3 separate regions of the Homo sapiens genome follow, and all the other regions are linked to region 2. The links are contacts of gene promoters, found by promoter capture Hi-C in blood cells and fetal thymus (Javierre and others, 2016). All regions are on one chromosome and are shown on one strand. Each heading gives the region's core, a stretch centred on a gene start or on the middle of the fragment in contact. The rest is flanking DNA. Distances are from core to core; before and after follow the strand shown.

Region 1 (3,821 bases), core at 534-3,033, 420 kb before region 2:
AATTAAACAGGGAAAAATGAGAGTGGCACAGTGGGGTGGGTAGGGGAAGACCTTAGAAATGTGGCCAGGGAAGGCATCTCTGGGATGTGACGTTTGAGAAGAGACCTGCAGGAGGTGCCTTTTGAAGATCTGGGAAGGAGTTTCCAGGCACAGGAAGAGCCAGTGCCAAAGTCTCAGGGCAAGAGCAAATGAGGAGGGAAGGGGTCTGAAAGGGAAGGAAGGCAGGCAGGCGAAGCTGGAGCACCCCACAGCCAGGGCTGAGATCAAAGAGGAGGGCAGGGCCCGATGGGTGGGGCAAGGTCTGGGTTTCATTTTAGACGCAGAGGCAGCCCCCTGAAGGGTTCTAAGTAGGAGAGTGAGGTATTCTCATTTAGTTTTAATCTCTCTGGCTGCCAGTGAGTCCCTCCCTAAAGTTCCCCTTCCTCCCTCCCCAGCAATCTAATCCACAGATGAGAACCCGGGAGCATAACTGGTAGCCGGGGCTGCTGACCCTGGCCCAGGGTCTGCAGGGTTAATCCCGGGGGCCTGGAGCAGCCCCTGATTAGCAGGCCCTGCCACTCCCTGCTGATAAACTCCCAGGCAGGAAGAGGCAGGACTCATCCGGTAGGAAAGTGGAGAAACCAAAGCTGGTGAGGAGGGGAGCTCCAGGAGCACCTTAGGAGGGCTCTCTTCCCCTTTTGGAGGTGGTGAGTTCCCTAGGTGAAAGCCCTCTGGTTTTATCCCTCATTTGGCATTTTCATAGCCACTCTTACAGTCAGGGCCTGGTGTGGATTTTATGGGCCCCTGTTTAAGGAAGAGAAAACAAAATTAGGTGCAGGGCTTTAGAAGAGCCATGTGTACATGAGGTCCCCTGAGACCTAAGCTTCACTAGCTCCATGGTAAGTGTCCATCTCTAATTTTCCATCAGGGGAATAAGCCCTGTATACAGATGAGGAAGTTGAGGCTCTGAGAGCCTGAAAGGGATATAGAAAACAGAAGGGTTTCTGCTGGGATTTCTTATCCCCCAGCCCAGAACTCATTCTACCACCCAATCCATCTAAAAATCCAGTTGTGCCTTCTCCTTGCAGACCTGCTCCCACCACCAGGCTCAGGCCACAAGGAAGGGTAGCATAGGGCATGGTGGAGATGGGCGGGCTGGTGGCAACCTGCAGAGGGAAAGGGCTTAGCATGAAGCAGCATCCCTGTTGGGGACAGGATCCTGGGTGGCCAGGATTCCATCTGCCTACCAGACATTCCAAACCACACATTGTTTTTTTTTTTTTTTTTTTTTTTGAGACAGAGTTTTGCTCTTGTTGCCCAGGCTGGAGTGCAATGGTGCAGTTTTGGCTCACCGCAACCTCTGCCTCCTGGGTTAAAACAATCCTCCTTTTGCTGTGAACCGAGATCACGCCTCTGCACTCCAGCCTGGGTGACAGAGTGAGACTCCGTCTCAAAAAATTAAAAAAAGAAAATAAAGGAATCCTCTTGTCTCAGCCTCTCCAGTAGCTGGGATTACCAGCGCCTGCCACCACGCCCAGCTAATTTTTGAATTTTCAGTAGAGACGGGGTCTTACATGTTGGCCAGGCTGGTCTTGAACTCCTGACCTCAGGTGATCTGCCTGCCTCAGCCTCCCAAAGTGCTGGGATTACAGGCATGAGCCACTGCGCCTGGCCCCCAAACCACACATTCTAAACCACCTGGAGGTCAGAGCAGCGGCTCCGGGATCTGGCTGAAGATCAGAATCCCTGGGAATTTGTTAAAATGCCATCCCTGGGCTCTAATCCAAAGCTGCAGAATGAGAATTGCCAGGGGTGGGACCAGAAATTTGGGCATTGAACACACTTTCCAGGTTCTTCTTCAGCACAGGTGGGCTGGAACCCCTGATTTAACCATCAGCCTTGCCTCCTGGGGGTCTGCCTACCTGTGCCAGGGTGGGTCCCCAGGAGTTATCAGGGACAAAGGAATCCCCTTTTCCTGGCAGGGGTGAATGTGAGTGTCTAGGGCTGACTGCTCACATGATAGCATGGAGTCTCAGCTCTGGCCAGCATGACTCTGGGAAGACGAGGACAAGACCCAGGGCTTGGTGGGGACGGGCTTTGCCAGGGCATGAATCATGCTTCTAGTGCTTCTAGGGGAGCCATCTCCAGGACTCCCTCCCCTCACCTCTAGAATGGAGTTGAGGAGGCCTGACACGAGAATTATTAAAGCACTTAGGATCCTTCTGGTGACCTTTAGAGAAGCTGTGCTGTGTGCCAACACAGTCCTAGAGGGAAGAAAGACACATTCCTGATGACAGACAAGGAAGCTGAGGTCCTGAGAGGTAGGGTAACTTGTCCGAGATTACCCAACTAGGAACTGGCAAGACTGAAATTTGAACTCAGGGTGGTCTGATTTCAGGGCATGTCATTTTTAGGCCATCCTGTCTTGTTTGGCTCTCTTTTCATTTCCTGTCATTTCGCTAGGTGATATTCATTGAGCACCTCTTTTGTGCCAGTGGAGAGCTGGCACCTCCACTCCACCGTTCTGCAGTGAGGTTGGATAAGGCACGAGGTGGTGGCCCTCTGGAAACTGTAAAGTGCTCTCTGGCCTTGGAGGATTCTTCTCAACCGTGTGGCTCAGCTCTCTCTGTGCTTTCTTCACAGCCTAACTGGGCTGGGAGAGTGCTATCTCTGGCTGAGAGAACCACAGACTTCAAGATGTATGAGGGCTACCTGGGAAGCTTGTTAAAATGCAGATTGGAACCACCCCCAGAGATTCCAATTCAGTTGGTCAGAGCTGGGCCTTGGGCTATGCATTTTTGACAACTGTCTAGATTGTCTGCTGCGGGTGGTTTGAGCATTGCACTTTAAGATATGGTACACTATAATAGAAAGACAAAAGTCAGAAGAAAGACGTAGTGACCATCTGGCAGCCCAAGTCTTAGATAATGAAAGTTAAGGACTTTCTTCTTGCGAAAATGCATAAACTCACCTACATCCAAGATTTTGAAGTTTCAGGAAGTTTTGGGTCCCTGAAGGCCAGCCATGCAATTATGGATCCTTGGACCCCAACTTAATAACCCCTGATCTCCATGCTAGGCTCACAGGTCACCTGGGCAATGAAGGCCCCCCTAGGCCTCCCAATAAAGTTGCTTCTCCTCTGTGTTCCTGTAACACAGTAAGGACTTAACTCCATCAGAGTTGTGGTTTACCCTATTTACGCCTCTCCCCCTGGACTGTGGGGCATGTGGAAGTCATTTTCCTCCTCCTTCCCGGCGCAAGGTAGGATTATACTGTCCTGTCCCCTTTGAGGTTAGACATATCCATGTGATTACTTTAACCATGAAATGTTAGCAGTAGAAACTATAAGCCAGTGTGTGAGTCCCCAAGTTTGCTTCACCTTGCCACAGTGATCTTGCAAATGTGTCAAGGTGGAGGGTCCACCAGCCCCTGTCCCTGAGTCACTGGGTGAACAGAAACTCATGCTGACCTGTGTTGGACATGCAGTGTGAGTAAGAAATAAACCTGGGGTATTTTTTTTTTTTGAGATAGTCTCGCTCTGTCACTTAGGCTGGAGTGCAATGGCATTATCTTGGCTCACTGCAACCTGTGCCTCCCAGGTTCAAGCAATTCTCCTGCCTCAGCCTGTAGCTGGGATTACAGGCACCTGCAACCATGCCCGGCTAATTTTTGTGTTTTTGTAGAGACGGGGTTTCACCATGTTGGCCAGGCTGGTCTCAGACTCCTGACCTCAAGTGATCCGCCCGCCTCGGCCTCCCAAAGTGCTGGGATTACAGCATAATCCCACGCCTGGCCAAAGCTAGGTTTTTTGTTACTGTAGGAAAACCTGGCTTGTCCTGATT
Region 2 (4,044 bases), core at 178-2,677:
TCTCAGAAAAGCCAGCCTCTTTCGTCGAGGCCAGCCAACAGTCAGTCAAGTCTGACCCTGATACACAAATTATCCACTTCTCATGGGACCAGAGAAATCCCGTAAGAAAGCCTGAAATGTTCCACTATATGAAACAGTCTAAGCAATACACTCACTAGCACCTCCTGGGAGGGTGGGAGTGATGTGACAGAGCTTCTGCTATGAGGGAGCTGCTAGTCTAAATGCGTGCACGCACACATACACACAAACATACGTGGGTAAGTTCAAAGGAGGCAGAAACCATTCCGATCCCAGTTTTGGCTGCAATAAACACTACAACTAACCAGACTAGACAAGTTCAGAAGAGATAGGGAAGGCTTCTGGTGTTCCATCCTCAGGACACTGGGCACCAATAGCCTCTGGGACATTTTGGGGGTCCCCCCACCAGAGCCCCACCTCTGGACTCCCATAAGGTCAAAGGCAGCAGGTCCCTCAAGGACCAGGAGCTTACCCCCTTCTCCACCCCCAGGGGCTTGAAGCTTTAAAGGGAGCATGATCTTTACATTCTGCAAGGAATCCACAGGATCTGAGAAAGGAAAAGGCTAGAGTTGGGGCGGGGGTGTTGAATAAATGGGGAGAGGAGGAAGGCCCGGGTGTCTCGTTGGGCAGATGAGAAATCAGGAAAAGGGCTGACCTGAGCAAAGAACACTGGGATCAGCAGGTAGGGGTTGTGGGGGGGGGGGGGTGGGAGGAGGGAAGCAGAGAGGACCTGGACACCAAATAGAAGAACCAGAATCTTCATTCCTATTGGCACAAGGCAGGAGTCATCCTGGGATACAGGGATGCAGATAGGATCCTTCAAAAGAGATCCGCTGGAAGACGTCAAGGAATACCAGACGGGGACAGAAAGGAAGGTGGTAACATGTGGTGAGAAATAGCGTCCTGAGTGCTAGTTCGGACTCAGTCTCTGACTGGCGTGGGACCCTGGACAAGTCCCGACAGGACTTAATTTTCCCATCCGGAAAATGGGAAGAGCTGAAGAGTCTCGGAGCTGACTCTGAGGAGGCAGACAGCAGAAGGTGGAGGAAGGAACCACAGGCTAAAAGTGAATTCGGGAAGGGGGTGTTCCCGGCCTGTAGCAACGGGGGGACTCACCTGTCCCGCCGCCGGCGCCACCGCCGCCCCCGATCCCCCAGGGGTGCCGTCGGGCTGCCGCTCGCGGTACAGCGCCCAAAGCCCCACGTTGGGCAGGAGGACCAGGGCCGCCAGCACCAGCGCCACCGCCTGCAGGAGCCGCTTCTCCTTCCGCCTCATCGGGGCCGGTCAGCCCCGCCGCGCCCCGCCGGCCCCGCCGCGCCGCCCCCAGCTCCGCGCGTCCGCCCGTCCGCCCGGCGGCGGCAGCAGCTCAGCCAGCAGAAGCGGCTGCGGCGCCGGCCCCGCTCCAACTCCGCGGCACTTCCGCCGCTCGCCGGCCGGGGAGCTGGGCGCCGCCACCACGCCGCCGCCACGAGGGGGTCGTCGCCGCCGCCACCGCCCCCGGGCCCCGCCGAGCCGCCCGCCCCGCGCCGCCTGCCCCCGCGTCGACCGCCGAGTCTCTGCGCTGCAGGCTCGGCCCTCTCACGGAGCGTCTCGGCCCGCCCGGGCGCTGCAGGATGCCGGGCCGGAGCGCTTCCCCCCTCTCGAGCCGCGATGGTCCGTCCCACTCCTCGGCGGCTCCCCCGCCCTCTGGAGCTTTGCGAAAGTCCCGGAGTTGGCGAGTTGGGCGCTAACTGGTGCGGGCTGGGCACCGCTGGGTGGGGTGCATGTCCGCTCGCCCGGGTACCCTGCCGCCCCGCCCGGCAACCTCCGCCCGGGACTGCAGCCGAACCTTTGCTGCCTCCCTGGGGATATGCAAATAGTGCTGGGGCCCCGCCGGGCGTTCTGAGCCTGGAGCCCCCGGGGCTGTCACTTCCAGCCCACCTAGGCTCGGCCCCCAGGACCTGCGGACCTACTTTGACCCCGGCGACTCGGTGTTCCCGGCCATGAAACGGGGCCACAGCCGTGCTGCACGCTCACTGTTCCGCGGGCGGGCCCTGGTTTTCTTCCTCTAGGGGGGCCCTGGCGTTAGGTGTGAACGCCCTCTGCAAACTGTAGGGAGCTGTGCCCGGCCGCCGCCCGTCTGTAGATCCTGCAAACCGGCGGGTGGGTAAGTGACGGTAGCCTCTCTGCAGCACCTTTCCTCACGCAAGTCCAACCCCCTTGGAGTTAGAATGCCCTGCATTCTCACGCGTGCTTTTGGATCCTAAGCGCACTGAGCCCTTCCCGGAAAGCTCTCAGCAAACCGTTGGCGAGCGCCACTATGTGCCAAACACTGTGCCAGGCTCTGGGATGAAATGAAAACAGACCTGAGCCCTGACGTCTGGGAGCTGAAACATGAAACACGTAATTTCACTAGACCAGGCAATGTGTCTGTAACTGTGGCGAGGGCTTTGACAGAGGAGTCGGGCTTCTGGGCGATGCGGAGGGCCGTGGAGCCGGACTCCGACGGTGATGCCAGCCAGCGGCTCCTCCTCGGGGCGCTCGACGCTGGTCACTTAGCTGCCTCCTCCCTGATGCGGTGGAACGGAGCACCCCCTTGGCTACCTTACTCTCTGCCACCCCCACATTCGTCCTCTTGATTCTCTGCTTCTCTAGCTCAGCCGCTGACCTTCGTGCCTAGCTGCCACTAGTCCTTGACCAGCGTTCTGGCAACTCTTGCCTCCAAGTTCTTCCAGCTCCAGGCTGAGCGATGGGGATTCAGTTTTCTGACATCACAGCTCAGTTCTTGATTTCTGCAGCAAAACCTTCAAGGCTTCCATCACCTCGGCTCTAGAGTCCATCATGCTCCTCTCCTATGACCTGCTAGGGCTGATCAAACGTTCTGTCTCCTGCCGTGCCCTGCCCTGCCCTGCCCTGAGCTTCGCTTAGCCTGTTGCAGGCTTTGTGTTTTCCTTCTTGTGCTGTTGACCACGCAGCTCCTTCTACCCATAAAACCCCCTTCTCTAGGTCGGTGGAAATCTTGTTCATCCTTCCGTGTCTAGTTAAACTGCCACCTCCTCCACGAAGCCTTCTAAAACTCCTCCTCAGGGAACTGTTTTCTTTCTTTAGATTTCCATCACAATAATGCTTACCTTTTATTGAGTGCTTACTCTATGTCAGGCAGCCCTTGAGATGCATTACCTCTTTAAATGCTCACAGTTACCCTGTGAGGTACATGCTTTTCTTATACCCATTGGCGAATGAGAGTCAGATTTAAAAATGCATGTAATCCCAGCACTTTGGGAGGCCAAGGCGGGCAGATCACGAGGTCAAGAGATCGAGACCATCCTGGCCAACATGGCGAAACCCTGTCTCTACTAAAAATACAAAAATTAGCTGGGCGTGGTGGCGGGCACCTGTAATCCCAGCTACTTGGGAGGCTGAGTCAGGAGAATCGCTTGAACCCAGGAAGCAGAGGTTGCAGTGAGCCGAGATCGTGCCACTGCACTCCAGCCTGGCAACAGAGCGAGACTCTATCTCAAAAAAATAAATAAATAAATAAATTAATTAATTAATTAAATAAATAAAAGAATGTGGCAGCCAGAATGATCTTGTTTTATCCAAGGTTAGATTGTATCGCCCCTCTGCTCAAATCCCTGTAGTGGCTTCCCACCTCTCATTAGGTTCCTAAGAAAGTACAGGACCCTACAAGCCCATATGTGATCAGCTCTCACTCCTTACTGTCCTTATTGTGCCCCAGTGACATTGGCTTCCTTGTTGTTCCTCAGAGCATCCCTCAGGCAGGCACAGTCCTGCCTCAGTACCTTTGCACCTGTTGTTACCTCTGCCTAGAATGGCCATTTTTCTATTTCTAGCTCCTAACTCTATGTCTTTTTTAAACACATTTTTTTGTGATAAACGTTTGTAAAACTGATCATTTGAACTATTTTAAAGTGTACAATTCAGCGGCATTATGTAAATGCACATTGTTCTGCAGCCATCACGGCTATCTATCTCCAGAACTGGTCATCAACCCAACTGAAACTCTGTACCCATTAAACACTAACT
Region 3 (4,079 bases), core at 896-3,395, 300 kb before region 2:
TACATTCTAGAATGTAAAAGGATTAATTTAAACTCTACAATTTACATCAATATTTTGAATATGTAAATTTTTTATGGGAGACTGTATTACATTTTGCTGAAATTAGAACAAAGTAAAGAGAAAGGGCAAGAAAGCAACATTGCTGATCTCTCTAGTATGAAAGATTTGGAGGGAGTGTGGCAATATATATATAAATGAAAAAATGTAATTGTGTTCATCATATTTAAAAATAGAATATGTGACTGGGCACGGTGGCTCACGCCTGTAATCCCAGCTCTTTGGGAGGCCAAGGCGGGTGGATCGCCTGAGGTCAGGAGTTCGAGACCAGCCTGACCAACATGGAGACACCCCCTCTTTACTAAAAATACAAAATTAGCCAGGCGTGTTGGCACATGCCTGTAATCCCAGCTATGCGGGAGGTTGAGGCAGGAGAATAGCTTGAACCTGGGAGGCGGAGGCTGTGATAAGCTGAGATAGTGCCACTGCACTCCAGCCTGGGCTCCGTCTCAAAAAAAAGAATATACTAAAGAACTGTGATATAAAAGTACTCTGTTAATGTAAAAAATAAAGCAAGTGTAATTCTTTTAGAATATAAAATTTGAGCATTACCTGCTGAGCAGTTCCCAAATTAAGTACAAGGAATGTATATTCATTTTCTGCCATATACTGTATGTAACAGGGAATACCTTGCTAAAATGATAAATACTTAGGATATAGTGGTAATGGCTTTCACATTTTTATAACATAACTCACTACACGCCATTCTTGTAGCTGCCCACTCTTAGAAACTTTGTTGCCTAATATTGAGGAAGCGGCTTTAATTTCTTCCATTTGGCAGTGTATGTCTATAGTGGAGCATGAAATTGGCTATGCATTGCTATTGCCTGCTGAAGTTTCTCTTCCTTGGCTCTTCTACAGTGGCAAATTGTTCTCTTTTCCATGAAGCTACTGAGAAAATCATTTATTTCCATTTTTCCCTCCACAAAGTCTTCCACAATATTATCAGGTTCTTCCCCAGCTTCATGTGCAGCTACTTTCAATGTTGCCTGTAGGGCACTTGCACTACAGCTCTCACTAAGTTCACACTGCCTTTGCATCTTCTTTTTGAAAGCAGACTTCATTTGTTTAAGTAATTCATACTTATCTAAAACGGTTTGCCTTTTGGCTCCCAAGCTGGGCTCCAAAAGGATATTTTTTTCTTGCTAGTTCCTCAATACTTTTTACTAAGTCATCTTTGTCAGTAATAATTTGTTTTAGTTGAGACAAAGTCAGAAACTGTTCTAGTAATACCTCCTCTTGTTCATTCATATCTGTGAGTCGTGACACGCTTAGTTCTGAGAGTTCTGGAAATGCATCAGAGACATCTGGCATCTTGTAACCAAAACCATTTTGGCTTGTCAATATTGAAGCATCTGTTGTGGAAATGGGTAATGGCAGATTTGAAAGGACACCAAATGAAGGAGCGACGGGCTTGGCTGTGGTATGACTTGTTGTTGAAGAAGAAACAGTATTAGCAACAGATAAAGAAGTGATAACTCCTCTTTGTTTCTTCTGGGGGATATGGAGGAAGAAATGGAAAACATTGAGAAGCATAAAGCGGCATCCCACTTGGGTTACTGTATAGGTAAGGAAATGCTGTTGCAGTAGGAGCTAAAACTGGAGGATTCTTCCAAAACTCATCCAACAGACTCTGAATAATTTTTCCAAGATCTGGGTGCATTGTAAAATTGTTTGCTAATGGAGAAGTAACATACACTCCTTGTTTATCCATTAAGTGATGTCGTATTGGTGGAAAAACACTGATCACTGGTTTTTCCTGAGGAAATTGTGGAGGAAGCAATATATGTTAATTGTCAGGTTGTTTATGGTGAATGGCAATCTGTATTCCACATCTTTCTGTATTTTAGCTATACTGGAGTGTGAGTTCCGGAGGGACTCGATCAGGCGTTGCTTCTGCTGCTGGAGGCTGGTAAGGCCACCGGGAACCCGGCTGCGGAGGAGGAGGCGCTCTTTGTCAGGTCCTCGGGCGGAGGCTCTGGAAGGCTCTGGCCTGCTTCTCCCAGCGGCTCGGCCCAGCGGTTCTCCTGCGACAGAGGACCGGGCTGGGACGTCCGTGGCCCAAGCGCTGGGGACCGCGTCTTCTCTAAGCCAGCCCTGCCTGTGCTTCCCGGGTTCTGGCGGACATGTTATGAATGGCGGGCAGCTGGAGAGGGGAACTTGCTGCCCAGAACAGGCAGTCCCACCTTCACCGCCCAGACGCCCAAGCCGGCCAGTTAGGCAGCCTGATCGCCCAGCGCTCCACCACCTGTGACGCCGTCTCTAAAAGGACTCTTTTAAAAAAGCATAGGTACAATGTCATTATCACACCTTTAGAAAACCTAACAATAATCAATAATTATCAAATAGCCACGTAATATGAAGTAAATAATATTCATTGACACCCCCACCCCTGAAAAAAAAAAGCCGGCCACCCATTGCTAAGTGAGAAAAGGAAAACAGAATAGACTCTGACCCCATTTTGGCAACATACACATCCTAATGGTAACAGTTATTTGGGGTTAGAAAGATTATGGATGGTTTCTTCTTTCTCAGGTTCTCGCATTACTTTTTTTTTTTTTTTTTTTTTAATTTTTTTGAGATAGAATCTCACTCTGTTACCCAGGCTGGAGTGCAGTGGTGCGGTCCCAGCTCACTGCAGACTCAAGCTCCTGGGCTCAAGCAATCCTTTCACCTCAGCCTCCCAAGTACCTGGGACTACAAGGGCACACCACCACATCCAGCTTTTTTTTTTTTTTAATTATTATTATTATTTGTAAAGATGAGGCCTCCCTATGTTGCCCAGGCTGGTCTCTAACTCCTGGGCCCAAGCCATTCTCCTGCCTCGGCCTCACAAAGTGCTAGGATTACAGACATGAGCCACCAGGCCCAGCCCATATTACTTTTTGAATTAAAAAAATAATACAAAGGGAAGAATAAGATGGTAGACTTCTTTTTCAAAGTCAAAATCCTCTGATTTAGGATCTAAGTATTAAGGGTTTATCCTGTCCCATCTTGAAATGAAGAAGACACAACCACCCAGAGAAGTTAAGGGTTTTGGCCACAATCACAGAGTAGGGGGAGGCTGTGAAGGAGAGAGGGGTATCCTGCTGGCTTCCCAGACTCTTGGAGAAAGCAGAGACAGAGGTCCTGGGACACCTCTCAAGCTCTGGTCCCTGTTGTCCCACTACCTTCACCCTCTTACCTTCCCATCTTTATCAAGCCTCACACGTTTGGGGCACTTTGTTGCTGGAGTTGACAGACCAAACGAAACAGAGGGGGGAGGCAGATAACCAGAGCCCTTTCTTGCCACACCTAGTCCTGTTGGCTTGTCAGGTCTGGAGGAGAAGGCATCTTGTTTCCCCAACACATTCCAGAGTCATGTCCCCCTGGCTGCCTGGCCTCCAGGCCAGGTCCCCCCAGCCCCCAAGACTTTCATGGTTGAGACAAAAAAGGAATGAAAGACTTGACATTGTTACACTCCTCTCTCCAAAGTCCCAGTTTTGCTGTGTGCCCTTGGGCAAATCCCTCTCCTCTCTGGGACTGTGTTTCTGCACCTGGACAGGGAAGTGGCTGGGATGGATAATTTCTGAGACATTCACCCTCCTTCCCCACCCAATTCTGATTTCATTCAGAGTTTCTAAATCTATCAGATATAGGAAGGAGATCCACCACACTTCTAAATGTCAGCTCAGAATCTCATGGCTTGGCCGGGCGTGGTGGCTAACGCCTGTAATCCCAGCACTTTGGGAGGCCGAGGTGGGCAGATCACGAGGTCATGAGATCGAGACCATCCTGGCTAACACAGTGAAACCCTGTCTCTACTGAAAATACAAATAATTAGCTGGGCGTGGTGGCGGGTACCTGTAGTCCCAGCTACTCGGGAGGCTGAGGCAGGAGAATGGTGTGAACCCAGGAGGCAGAGCTTGCAGTGAGCCAAGATCGTGCCACTGCACTCCAGCCTGGGCGACAGAGCGAGACTCCGTCTCAAAAAAAAAAAAAAAAAAAAGAATCTCATGGCTCATGCCTATAATCCCAGCACT

What was found. The method cuts DNA at HindIII sites, captures the fragments that hold promoters and counts their contacts. A CHiCAGO score of 5 or more calls a contact.
Region 1: a fragment that was not itself captured here is called in contact with the fragment with the promoter of GALNT10 in region 2 in 1 of 17 cell types (erythroblasts); the score reaches 5.6 in erythroblasts.
Region 3: a fragment that was not itself captured here is called in contact with the fragment with the promoter of GALNT10 in region 2 in 1 of 17 cell types (naive B cells); the score reaches 5.1 in naive B cells.

What each region holds. Positions count from the first base shown.
Region 1 is chr5:154,605,331-154,609,151 of GRCh38, reverse strand. No RefSeq gene overlaps it. Among named protein-coding and RNA genes, the nearest start is that of MIR3141, 11 kb to the right of the region's middle. The HindIII fragment of the contact is 1,837 bases long and covers 865-2,701 here.
Region 2 is chr5:154,188,116-154,192,159 of GRCh38, reverse strand. It overlaps GALNT10 (polypeptide N-acetylgalactosaminyltransferase 10), which reads right to left and starts at 1,427. Exons shown (of 12, transcript NM_198321.4): 1 at 1,135-1,427. The coding sequence starts at 1,293. LOC124901118 (a long non-coding RNA gene) reads left to right here and starts at 2,081. Exons shown (of 2, transcript XR_007059010.1): 1 at 2,081-2,164. RefSeq lists silencers at 1,132-1,191, 1,262-1,341, 1,432-1,541, 1,552-1,651, 1,742-1,831 and an enhancer at 2,052-3,017. The HindIII fragment of the contact is 10,101 bases long and covers 521-4,044 here.
Region 3 is chr5:154,491,517-154,495,595 of GRCh38, reverse strand. It overlaps the pseudogene LOC100128833 and the pseudogene LOC100271907. Among named protein-coding and RNA genes, the nearest start is that of HAND1, 15 kb to the right of the region's middle. The HindIII fragment of the contact is 5,860 bases long and covers 1-4,079 here.